Linked DNA regions of Homo sapiens: regions 1 and 2 are each linked to region 3. The links are contacts of gene promoters, found by promoter capture Hi-C in blood cells and fetal thymus (Javierre and others, 2016). All regions are on one chromosome and are shown on one strand. The core of a region is centred on a gene start or on the middle of the fragment in contact, and the rest is flanking DNA. Distances in the headings are between cores, read along the strand shown.

Region 1 (4,210 bases), core at 1,406-3,905, 290 kb after region 3:
ATGGCTTTTAGTATATTTACAGAGCTGTGCAACCAGCACAATCAATTTTTGAATATTTGCATAGCCCCCCTCCCAAAAAAACCCACACCCTTTAACCATCTCCCCACAATCTTCCCTGTTCCTTGTCCCCCCACCAAGTAATCTCCTTTCTGTCTTTATGGATTTGCCTATTCTCGATTTTTCATGTGACTGCAATCACACACTCCATGGCCTTCCGAGTCTGGCTTCCTCACTCGGCACCGTGTTTCAAGGTCCATCCACACTATAGCACGTGTCACAGCCTCACGCCTTTCTTTTCTTTTTCTTTTTTTGAGACGGTGTCTCACTCTGTCGCTCAGGCTGGAGTGCAATGGCGCAATCTCGGCTCACTGCAACTTCTACCTCCTGGGTTTCAGTGATTCTCCTGCGTCAGCCTCCCGAGTAGCTGGGACTACAGGTAGGACTACAGGTACAGCCACCACGCCCAGATAATTGCCTCACTCCTTTCAAGACTGAAAGTCCCATTGTCCAGGTAGACCACAATGTATTCACTCATCAGGTGATAGGCACTGGAGTTGTTTCCAGTTTTCGGCTGTTGCAAATAGTGCTGCCACGAACCTGTGTGCTGGGTCACAGGGTGAACTCTACGTTGAATCGTTTTGGGAGCTGCCAGGTGGCTGCCCCAGTTTCCGTTTCCACCAGCAGTACGGGAAGGCCCCATTTCCCAGCCTCGCTCGCCGTCGTGTTTGGTTGTGGTGGGTGTGCAGGGCCATCTCACCGTGGGGCCCACACCTATTCACCTCCAGGTCCAGCCCTGACCACTGGGCCTGACTGGGCTCCAAGGACCTCGGTCCCGGTCCTCGCCGTGGGATGGATGGTCCCTTCTCCGGGGGCTGCTCTTTCCGAGTCTCCTCCAGCTCTCCCCAGGGCTCCCAGAAGGTCCTCTGCTCCCAGCCTCTACCATGTCCTGATCGGCTTTCTCTTCTCCCCTTGTCCACTCCTCTGACCAATGTCCTATGGTTTCCCTGTGGCCACTCCAATGGCTACAGCTCAGCAGTCATCCCTTCACCCCCTCCCTCCCACCCCATTCCTGCTGAAGCCCTGGTTGGCATGGGCTCACCCCTAAAACTTCTGGCTTCTGCCTCACCCCTCCCGGCTCCCCATCTCTCCCTCCGCCTGTCCTCTTAAACATCGGGGGCCTACAGGCCTCTTCAACTGTCATCCTCCTCTATTCCAGGGCTCCTCATTTGGTTCATCTGGCCCTTCTGAGAAGCCTGAACAATCTGGGGCCCTCCAGGCCTCTTCAGCTGTCATCCTCCTCTATTCCAGGGCTCCTCATTTGGTTCATCTGACCCTTCTGAGAAGCCTGAACACTCTGGGGCCCTCCTTGAAAGTCTCGTGTGGGTCCCCAGCAAGGCCAGCTGGCCTAAGGCCTAAGAAAAATGCTCCTGGTGCTGCTTTAGTTTGCAAAAAGTGAATTAAATCTGCCCAAGCCTTTTTTCACTGAGCTGGTGAAAACTGTGTCCCAAACATGATCTTGCCATCCACTCAACTCAGGGTCCTGCCCCACGGAGAAGGAGCTGAGCTCTGAGCCCAGCTGGAGCCCCCAGGCAGGTCCCAAGGCTAGAGCTGGGGTCAGTGGGGGTGCAGGGCAGGGACAGGAGCCTGGGTCACTGGCCAAGGGAAACCAGCTCAGGACAAGGGTGCCCCCCGCGGGGTCCGCCTTCATTTTGTGTGACTCGTGCAGTTGCGCTGAGACAGGCCCCACGCTTGCTTTAATGATCTGGTGTTGCCGTCTTAAAATCCTTCATAAATTCTAAACAAGGGGTCCTGTGTCTGCATTTTCCCCCAGGCCCTGCAGATCAAGCAGTGGGTACCGCGGCTGCTCTGGCTTCTCCTGGAATCTCAGGTGCTCCCTCTTGTGGCTGTTCTCAGCCTAGACAACCAGAAAGCCGCAGAAAAGCACCAGCCAAGGCCGAGGCTGCGAGGGTGCTGGCGGGCAGGCCCATCACGGGGCTGGCTGTCCTGGTCCGCGATTCCTTGTCAGCCATTTTCCTCAGGGGGAGCGGCAAACGCCAACCTGGACTGAACTCATCTGGGGACAACCCTGGCTTGGAGGAGGGTCATGTGGCTATTTGCAGACTTTACTTCTCTTACTGTGAACACCCATGTGCTCTGCTGCCTAAAACATAACATGTTTGACAATGTGATGCGGCCCAGACCTACCATGGATGCCATGTCACGTACGTACTATGCATCCGACAACAGGGCCAGGAAGCAGAAGGTTCCGGAACACGACTTTCCCAGAGAGCTCAGATAAGAACCCGTGGGCATGTCAGCTCATTCAGTCCTCATGACCCCCTCCGCCCACCATGAGGAAGGTCCATTCTTTCTTCCTCATTTAACAGATGAGGAAATGAAGGCACAGAGAGGTTAAGAAGCTTGTTCTCGGTCACACAGCTAGGACAGAGGTGGATTTGAACCCAGGCAGTATGGCTGGGGTTACCATCCTGGCCTTTTTGAACATGTCCGGGAGGGCAGGCCCTACCCAGCCACACAATGCCCAGTAACTCCTGCGGGTGACCTGCCCTGCCTCGTGGAGACTCCGTTATATCTGGGCCACCAAGGCAGGGGTTAGAGGTCTGTGTGAGCCCAGCACTGAGGTTCTCTCTGGGTTGAACCCACCTCAGAGATGTGCCTTGGGCAGGCCTGGCCTTCTGTAGAAGCTGTGAGGGTGAAGGTCTCCAGCCCTTAAAGAACTCTCCCCAACAAAAAAAACAGTCTCCTTCCCAGCTTGGGGCACTATGTGCTCGGCTGTGGCAGCTCCGTCTGTTCTTCCCCGCCTGCCCCCGGGCACCCGCAGGGGCGCCCATCAACTCAGGCAGCTCAAGCTGCAAGGAACAAAAGCTTCCCTCCAGGAGCCGGAGCTTGAGACTTCGCCCAGGTGGGGAGGAAGACGCAGCGAGACCTAAGCCTTCTTCCTCAGTTTTGTGTGGCAGCAAAGCTGGGTTCTGTGCTGGCGGTGGGCTCAGCACAAATGCCCCTCCGCATCACCCCACTTACATCTGCAATCCCCGGGCCCCCGTGGCCGCCCCCCCCACTTGCTTTGCTCCAAGGCACTTGGCACCTTCCAACAACCTAGAGCACAGAAGGACCTGCGCTGCTGGGGTCTCCCCCTCCCTCTCTGGACACTGAGCCTGATGGGGCAGGGGTCTGTGTTCCCAGCGCGAACCCCCGGCAAAGTCCCATACAGGGGGAGCTCAGGCAGGGTCAGCGGAGGGACCTGCGCCTGAATCCCGAAGTTCCACTCTGACTCACACAGCCTGGGCCCCCAGCTCTGACATGCCCCCTCTGATGGGGGGCGTCTCAGCCCCATTCCATCCTCCTGCAGCTGATGCACCTCCCAGCTTTCGGAGTGACTCCCTTCTTTCAAATCCGATGTCCCTGTCCTGCTCCTGCCAAATCTGGCCCCCTCCAACGTGGTACCTAAGGGTCCAGAGTCGAGGGTCGCCTTTGCTGTGCCCTCGCACCCCCTGGGGGCGGGCCTGGGGCAGTGGGTCCCAAGCCTGTCAGGATTGGGCCCACGCTACACCACGATAAACGCTGGGGCCACCCAGGGCAGCAGGTGCCGCGCCCCAACTCCATGAGGCCCTTGCTTTTCTCAGCGGGAAGTGACAGAAAACATTATTTTTCTAGTCAACCCATTCGGAGATGGAATAGAACAGACAGCAACATTCGCATGAAAATGTCACGATGAAAGCACTGAGGACTCGCAGGACACCAGCGGCACTGGGGAGGTGCTTTTGAGCTTGGTCCCCCGCACCCCGGGGGTCCCCGCCTTCTCCCTCTGCCGCATGAGAAACACTGGGGCCCAGGTGTTCTCAGCTCATTTGTCGCCTTCCCCACCATCTTAGAAAGCGACTGAGGTCTTTTGAATTCCAGGGGCTGGTCTGAACCTTCCAAGAGCACAGATTTTACTGACCTTAAGGCTCGGTGAACCCACAGCTGACAAAAGGTTCCAGAGAGGAGGAGGAGGGGCTGGCTTGGGGTCACGCAGCCAGAGGCAGGGGCTGAGCAAAGTTTCCAACAGCGATTGTCTCCCAAAGGTCAGCCCCTGCCCGATCGCGATGGCGGCCACCACAAGGCGGGGCTGAGCCAGTGGGCAGGGGTGGAGTGGGATGGAGCGGGACCCCCGACTGACAGCCTCCCGTCCTACCTGCGGTGAGCCTCC
Region 2 (3,210 bases), core at 383-2,882, 350 kb after region 3:
TCTCTGGTTCTGTTCCAGGGTCTCCTGCATTTGTATTTTCAGCCTCTAGGCTGTGTACAGCTCGGGAGTGGAGCCAGGATTTTCTAGGTCCTTGGCCAGGAAGGACCTGGGCCAGCTTTCTCCCTCTAGGTCGGTGGGTTGGGGGAAAGGGATAAAGATTATTTTAGTCCAGATCATCATGTGTTTGCCCCTTCACTGGAAGGCTGCGGGGGAGCAGGCTGTCCCAGCTTCTCACTGTCTTCCCGTCCCTCCAGTTATACAGGTTTCTGGCCAGAAGAACCAACTCCACATTCAACCAGGTTGTGTTGAAGAGGTTGTTTATGAGTCGCACCAACCGGCCGCCTCTGTCCCTTTCCCGGATGGTGAGTGGCTGGTCCAGAGAGCACGGTAGACCTGGGAGCCGCTGGGTCTTGTCTGTCTGGAAGGGAGGCAGGACTTGGAGCTCTGGGAGCAACCAGGGCATCAAGGGTTTGTCTCAGCCAGTCGCGAGCGTAGAGCTTGGACTGTTGGTTGGAACTGAGTGTCCATGGGCAGTGGGCAAGTCTCCTGGTCCTCCTCTCCTTCTCTTTGTGAGGTGGAGGTGTCCTGGTGGCTTCAGGAGATTGCCCCAAGTCATAACTGAGTTTTATGTCAAAGGCTCTGCTGAGGGAGGCCCTATTGAACAGTCTGCATTTTTTTTTTTATCTGGAGCTTTCCCCAGCTGGACCTGAGGAGAGGCCTGTGGGGTTTAAGGGGTGTGGTGTGAGTGGGGGGTCCCGTTAGAGGGCACAGCTGCCCTGGCCTGGGGATGCCTCAAGCGGGGCTGAATGTAAACACCAGAACAACTTACGACGTACATCCTCCCCACCCTAAGATCCGGAAGATGAAGCTTCCTGGCCGGGAAAACAAGACGGCCGTGGTTGTGGGGACCATAACTGATGATGTGCGGGTTCAGGAGGTACCCAAACTGAAGGTGAGCTGGCGGGGGCTGGGCAGACCCATCAGACCCTTGCTGTACTGTGCTGTGCTGTGCTGTGCTGTGCTGTGCTGTGCTGGTCCATCCTCAGTCTTGCCACCGCTGGTGAGGCAAGCATCCTGCCTGTCTGAGTGGCTTTGAGGATTGGTGTGGGTCGTCTCTGGCATGGTTGATGGTGGGGTCCCCTGGGCAAGCTTCTTCTGGGGCAAGTTGTAAACTGTTAGTGCTGGCCCCTAGAGCCAGACAGCCTGGGCTCAAGTCTAGACTCCTTTGTCACCTCTGCACAGGTCTTTTTTTGGCCCAGCTTCCTTGCTGTAGTTTCTAGCATAACACCAGGGATGTGGTGGTGAAAGTTCCGGAAGTGTTGAGAACTGCTGCTGTCAGCCCAGGGTGCTCCGGGTAGTAAACGATAGTGTTGGTTACCAGGGCTCTGCTGCGCCAAGGCAGTGGAGGGTGAGTCCTGGCAGCCCCTGGGTGACCACGCAGGGGTCTGACCCGCCAGCCTTGTCCTCTCCACCAGGTATGTGCACTGCGCGTGACCAGCCGGGCCCGCAGCCGCATCCTCAGGGCAGGGGGCAAGATCCTCACTTTCGACCAGCTGGCCCTGGACTCCCCTAAGGGCTGTGGCACTGTCCTGCTCTCCGGTGAGTGATACGTGGTCGACGGGTTTGGACTGAGCTGTGTGGCTACTGGCAGCCTTCACCCTCCTGGATCTGGGAGGCCAGAAGCTGGGCGCCAGATCCCTGTCTCACCCGGTTCTCCTTCCCCTTCCCTAGGTCCTCGCAAGGGCCGAGAGGTGTACCGGCATTTCGGCAAGGCCCCAGGAACCCCGCACAGCCACACCAAGTGAGTATCAGGCCCCCAGCCCTGCCCTCTCCCCAGACTCAGCCTGCAGGGCCAGGCCTGGCCACACTTGGGCTGCTTCTCCTATCCCTCGTACCAGCCAGCCCCAGGCCTTCTGGAACTCTCAGCTGCCTCATCCTGCCTGCTTTTCCCTTCAACACTGCTTGGAGCTGTGTTTTCCAGGGCCTGAGCAGGCATCTCCTGGGGAGCATGCAGTTCACCGGCCTTTGCCAGCCCAGGCTGGGACCCTCCAGGTGGTGGGGCAGGTGCTTCCATAGCCCCTCCTGGCTCCTTGGCTTCCCACTCTGCCAAGCTTTTCCAGCAGCATTGACTCTCCTGGGGCTGAATGTGACAGGCTTGTGGTGTTCCTGTGCCACTCCACAATGGCCTCCTTTAAGAGGGCCCCCCTCTCACTCCCTCCTCTCCCCACAGACCCTACGTCCGCTCCAAGGGCCGGAAGTTCGAGCGTGCCAGAGGCCGACGGGCCAGCCGAGGCTACAAAAACTAACCCTGGATCCTACTCTCTTATTAAAAAGATTTTTGCTGACAGTGCTCTGTGTGTGTTATTGGGGGATGGGTTGGAGAATTGGTTCCTGCGGGTGAGAATGCATTTGGTTTGGGGACAGGGACGTCATGCCAGTGAAGACCAGCCCTCTTCCTGCCCCCACTGCCCCGGAAGCTCCCTGCCTCCTTCCCAACAGCCAGGTGGCAGGTGTTCCCACACCGGCTTCCTTGGGTCAGCCACGCCCGCCCCTCTTAAAGGATCCTGTGCCCCTCCCTGGTGCTGGGATGGCGGGTGGGGCGTGGACCGGGAAGTGCAGGGTGCAGGCTGGCAGGGCTGTGGGGAGGGAGAGACTGCCTGGGAACAGGTGAGGCAATCTCAACCCCCCGGGGACCGGGAAGCCTGAGTCTAGAGGGGCGTTCACCCCCTGGGAGAGCACAGGTAAAGAAAGCGTGTGAGCCGCACCCCCGGACCTCCTCCAGGGGCCTGTGGGGGCCCTCCTGTGTTTACACAAGGGGCCGGGCTCCCTGGATTCCAGGTCGAGGCCTGATGAGTGAGGCCAGAAGCCGGGAAGCACCGCAGAAGTAGAAGCCGGGGAGCCACAGCCTACGTTCTCGGAAAAAGCAGGCACTGGAAGGGAGGCCATTGAGCCCGGCACTAGCCGGTGTGGGTGAGCCCCGGCGATGGGGGGGATGGGTGAGGGTGGGGCGGGGAGGCTGGCCTGCCTTGACTCCTTTCTTCTCTTTGCAGCTCCCTGCTGTGGTCTGGAGGAAGCAGCGGCCTGGGTTGGTGGGATTGGAATGAAGGGCTTCTGGTTTGCAGGGATCAAGGGTCCAGGGTCCCCGAGGTTGGGTCAGGAGCCTCAAGGGGATAACTGAGGCTTGGGAGGGAGACAGGGCGAGATAGAGAC
Region 3 (4,669 bases), core at 762-3,261:
CCTCAACCTCCTGACTAGCTGGGATTACAGGTATGAGCCACCACACCCAGCTAATTTTGTATTTTAGTAGAGACGGGGTTTCTTCATGTTGGTCAGGCTGGTCTCGAACTCCTGACATCAGGTGAGCGACCCACCTGGCCCCATAATCACTCGTTAAATAGGGCTGTTTCTGGCTGAGACCTAACATCTGTTTCTAGATACCAACCTAGGTCTTAATTCAACTCCCTGGAGTCTATCTCTACCATCTGGGAGGGACAGTTAACAGCCAGGCAAGCAGAGAACCCTCAGGTTCAACACTACCCAGATAGCCTCTTGTCTTAGGACAGTTAAGAAAATGGGAGATGGGGCCAACTCCTCTTTCACTGGCATCCCAACCCAGCCAGAAGCTTTATGAGAACAGATCCCACCTCATCTTCCACACCACACACAAAACCACCAGCTGCATCAAAAAGCTTTATTTCCATTTGGTCCAAGGCTTGTTAGGATAGTTAAGAAAGCTGCCTATTGGCTGGAGGGAGAGGCTTAGGCAGAAGCCCTATTACTTTGCAAGGGGCCCTTCAGAAGTCGCTGGGCTCAGAAGGCTCTTAGTCGTGCTTGAGAGTGAGCCTTTCGAAGAGATACTCGCCCAGCCCAGCCTCCGGGCCACCCAGCCTGTGGAGGTTGGTCAGGTGGTCACCCATCTTCTTGATAAGCTTCACTTCCTCATCTAGGAAGTGAGTCTCCAGGAAGTCACAGAGCTGAGAGAGAAGAGGGAGAAATTAGAAACCCAATCCCTGGAAAAGAGGGGGAGAGAGCAGCCAGTTGCAGATTAAAATGTGACAGGTGTGAAATGAGGCTCTGAAGGAAATTTGCCCAAAGGGAGCAGAGGCTTGAGGGGTATGGTTGGGTAGCCATGGATGCAGCGGGTACGTACATGGGGGTCCGTGCGGGCAGAACCCAGGGCATGAAGATCCAAAAGGGCCTGGTTCAGCTTTTTCTCCAGGGCCATGGCAGCTTTCATGGCGTCTGGGGTTTTACCCCACTCATCTTCAGCTGGCTTCTATATAGAAGGGAGAAATGGCTCAGAATACACACACTCGGCACATAGAACTAAACCTACATTTCCCAAGAGTCGTTGGGGGTCAGAGGCCCAGGCCACAAAGACATGTGACAGCTTGTATTTATCACTCTCCGCACCCTGTCCTAGCTCTTACAGCTATACGTCCCTAAGACCACGCAGCGGTGTGGACTGCCGCGTGTTGTGGGCACTGCACGAGGTGCGCCTCTATTTCCAGCGGTTAAGAGGGCTCACAAGACCGAACTCAATCTCCCAGAAGCCCACGCGACACCTACGCCCTCAAATCAAGGCTCCTCGCGCGCACGGCCTGCTGGGAGATGTAGTCCATTACCCACACACTAGTTACCTTGATGTCCTGGAAGAGAGCGCGGCCGCCACGCTGGTTTTGCATCTTCAGGAGACGCTCGTAGCCCTCGCGCTTCTCCTCGGCCAATTCGCGGAAGAAGTGGCTCACGCCTTCCAGAGCCACATCATCGCGGTCGAAATAGAAGCCCTACGGGAAGAGATGGAGGCAACAATGGTTAGCGGGAGGCGAGGCCAAGGGGACTCCGCCCTCTGTTTACCCGACCGCACAAAGAAGGCTGGCGCGTGCAGTGAGGGCCGGAGGTGCGCAGCTGGAGGAAATTAGGGCCAGGGGCGTCCTGGGGACTCACCAGAGAGAGGTAGGTGTAGGAGGCCTGCAGGTACAAATTGACCAGGCTGTTGACGGCTGCCTCCACGTCGGTGGAATAATTCTGACGAATCTGGGAGCTCATGGTTGGTTGGCAAGAAGGAGCTAACCACAAAAACGGTGCTGGCAGGTCCCAGAAGCAGGAGATGGCCGAGAAGATGGTCCCGGAGGTTGCAAGCGGAGAGGAAATCGGAGGGCGGTCGGAGGCTGGAAGAGAGTCCCCGGATCTGTTCCGTCCAAACACTGTTGAAGCAAGAGACAGACCCGCGGGACCGCCGAACTGCGAGGGGACGTGGCTAGGGCGGCTTCTTTTATGGTGCGCCGGCCCTCGGAGGCAGGGCGCTCGGGGAGGGCTAGCGGCCAATCTGCGGTGGCAGGAGGCGGGGCCGAAGGCCGTGCCTGACCAATCCGGAGCACATAGGAGTCTCAGCCCCCCGCCCCAAAGCAAGGGGAAGTCACGCGCCTGTAGCGCCAGCGTGTTGTGAAATGGGGGCTTGGGGGGGTTGGGGCCCTGGGGCTGATTCTGGAAATGCAGGGGTTCGTGGGCGGGAGGGTGGGGGCTGGGGTCCCTCTGGGAGGCTAGAGTTTTATGGGAGCACTAACAGCCCTGTGAACTGATGACCCTGGGGTCCTGGGGTGCCTCGGGAAAGTAAGATTCTGGGGTTTCCGAGGGCATGGATTTTTCTGGAACCTTGAGTGGGGGGAGGGGCACCTCAAAGGTGCAGGGAGGACCTGTAGTTGCCTGAGGTTTGCGCTGCGAGATAAGGAGTCTCCGGATCCTTGGGAAGCTTGGAAGGCTGTGAGGTGTTATTTCTGGACCCCTGGAGATCTCTGGAAGATGGAGTGTTGCGGGGACTGGAGTCCTGGGATTTACAGGGGTGGGGGTTCACGATGCAAACTCTCTATATTTTGGAGCCCTCCCCGGGGAAATCTTTAGGTTCTTGAGGTGCTCTGCAAGTTGGAAAGGGCAGTTATTCTGGAGCCGTGGGTTTCACCCAGTGCGGGAAGCCCAGGAGGAGCATTGTATGAGGTAGGGTGACTTCTGGAACCCTGGACAGCCCTCTGGAACCCTCCAAAGATGGGCTGGGACTTTGGGGATACCTTGGAGCTCTTTCAGGGGCCCAGGCTTTTTCTGGGAGTGGAAATGGGGAGGAATGAAAAGTCTGTTTTGAGCTTTGCGGTGTCTCTGGGATTGCATTTCCTGGAGGCTGTTTTGGAGACAACTCACAGACTTCGAGAATTCTCCGTGGCCCTGAACAGTGTCTCTGAAGTTGCCCTCGTGTCTTGCCTGACGTGTGCTCCTTCAGGCCCACAAAGAGAAGCCCTGCGTTGTGGACAAACAGTCTGGGGACCTATGGACGAGACGTCTGTCTTCGACTAATGCATATTTTTTAAGTGGGCCTGGTCCACGTTGATTTCTGGGAGACGGAGTCGGCGCAAACCTTGACTCTACTTAAGTGCCCTGATGGAGGCAGCCCGTGCGCTGGGCAGGGAGCTGAAGCCACTGGGGTGTGGGGTGAGGTCAGGCCCTGCCCTACAGAGGAGCTGCTCCGAACAGCCCAGGCGGGGCAGCCCCTGACCGAGGGGATCTGCAGATGCCCCGCCAGGCCGGTATCTGGGGTCCTTGTTGCAGGCAGCGACTGCTGAGTCATGCTGAGCTCAGCGCGGGAAGGGGCCCCCGCGGGGACGGATGGGGGTGGGGCCACTCGCTGACCTCATCCCCTTGGCACTCCCCGACTTTTTTGGTGGGACCCTCAGAACTAGACCTGGCTCAGACCCAAATCGGGCCCCCTACCCCAAGGTCCCCCCTTGTTGGAAGCCGGCTGTGTGCTTTGTCTCCGTGTCTTTTTGGTTCCCATAATTTTTTTTTTTCTGGGATCCTGCCTGTGGCCATATTGTCCCCTCACTCTGGGTGGTGGCTCAGTGTACACTCATTGATCCTCTGCCCCTCTCTCTCCCCTGACTTGGGGTCTCTGGGAAGAGTCCATGGAGGAGGGGCAGCCGTCCAAAGCACCCCGTTGACTGTGGGGCCCGAGTTACTCATTTACCAAATGTCATACCTCAGCCCAGAGACCTTTAGTCGGCCGAGAGGGGCCTTGGGGCCCATAGGTGGAGGGAGAGGAGGGGCTGAGAGAGACAGGATCTGAAGACCATAGAGAACGTGGGGTGGGGAGACAGAGGCCCAGAGAAAAAGAGACTCAGACAGAGACCCTGAGAGAGAGGGGGACAGAGACCCAGAGAGAGGGGAAAACAGACCCGGAGACAGAGGGGTACAGAGACCCTGAGAGAGAGGGGAGGGGGACAGACCTAGAGAGAGGAGGGCAGAGACCCAGAGGGAGGGGAAAAGAGACCCAGAGAGAGGGGGGGACAGAGGTGGGGGGGGACAGAGGCAGGGAGGTACAGAGACCCAGGGGTGGGGGGGATAGAGACCCAGAGGGACCCGGCGGGAGGGGACAGAAATCCAGAGTGGGGGACAGAGATCCAGAGAGAGGTGGGGACAGAGATCCAGAGAAGGGGGTACAGAGACCCAGAGAGAGGGGGGACAGGGACTCAGAGAGAAGGGGACAGAGACTAGGGAGGACTGAGACCTGGGGGGGCGGGGACAGGGACCCGGGGGCGGGGGACAGAGACCGGGGAGAGGGAAAGAGACCCAGAGAGAGGGGAGGTACAGAGACCCAAGAGAGAGTGACAGCCAGAGAGAGGACAGAGACCCAGAGAGAGGGAGACAGAAACTCAGGGTCGGGGGACAGACCCAGAGAGAGATGGGGGGCCAGAGATCCAGAGGGGGGGACAGAGACCCAGAGAGAGGGGGCCAGAGGTCTGGGTGCCAGGGGTGGAAAGAGGCCCAGAGAAAGAGGGCCAAAGGTGGGGTGGGAACAGAGGCTCGGAAAGCAAAGACCCAGAGCATGGGGACAGAGACCCAGAGATGGGAGGGGGTAAAG

The links. The method cuts DNA at HindIII sites, captures the fragments that hold promoters and counts their contacts. A CHiCAGO score of 5 or more calls a contact.
Region 1: a fragment that was not itself captured here is called in contact with the fragment with the promoter of FTL in region 3 in 3 of 17 cell types (endothelial precursors, erythroblasts and M0 macrophages); the score reaches 8.1 in endothelial precursors.
Region 2: a contact is called between a fragment that was not itself captured here and the fragment with the promoter of FTL in region 3, in 1 of 17 cell types (endothelial precursors). The highest score is 5.6, in endothelial precursors.

What each region holds. Positions count from the first base shown.
Region 1 is chr19:48,673,253-48,677,462 of GRCh38, reverse strand. LOC105372431 (a long non-coding RNA gene) reads left to right here. Exons shown (of 3, transcript XR_936016.3): 1 at 1-436; 2 at 1,832-2,222; 3 at 3,676-4,210. It also overlaps the pseudogene SEC1P. Among named protein-coding and RNA genes, the nearest start is that of NTN5, 2.3 kb to the right of the region's middle. RefSeq lists a silencer at 1,818-1,967 and enhancers at 1,593-2,240, 2,241-2,889. The HindIII fragment of the contact is 466 bases long and covers 2,423-2,888 here.
Region 2 is chr19:48,614,468-48,617,677 of GRCh38, reverse strand. It overlaps FAM83E (family with sequence similarity 83 member E), which reads left to right and starts at 2,602. Exons shown (of 7, transcript NM_017708.4): 1 at 2,602-2,741; 2 at 2,839-2,970; 3 at 3,051-3,210. It overlaps RPL18 (ribosomal protein L18), which reads left to right. Exons shown (of 7, transcript NM_000979.4): 3 at 255-362; 4 at 854-952; 5 at 1,476-1,599; 6 at 1,732-1,801; 7 at 2,231-2,347. The coding sequence ends at 2,306. RefSeq lists enhancers at 692-1,522, 1,523-2,354, 2,859-2,918, 2,949-3,048, 2,355-3,186 and 1 more. The HindIII fragment of the contact is 962 bases long and covers 1,152-2,113 here.
Region 3 is chr19:48,962,651-48,967,319 of GRCh38, reverse strand. It overlaps FTL (ferritin light chain), which reads right to left and starts at 2,011. Exons shown (of 4, transcript NM_000146.4): 1 at 1,711-2,011; 2 at 1,404-1,550; 3 at 914-1,039; 4 at 441-737. The coding sequence starts at 1,812. The coding sequence ends at 585. RefSeq lists enhancers at 1,722-1,771, 3,321-3,430, a silencer at 2,022-2,181 and cis regulatory regions at 3,112-3,612, 4,552-4,669. The HindIII fragment of the contact is 1,823 bases long and covers 695-2,517 here.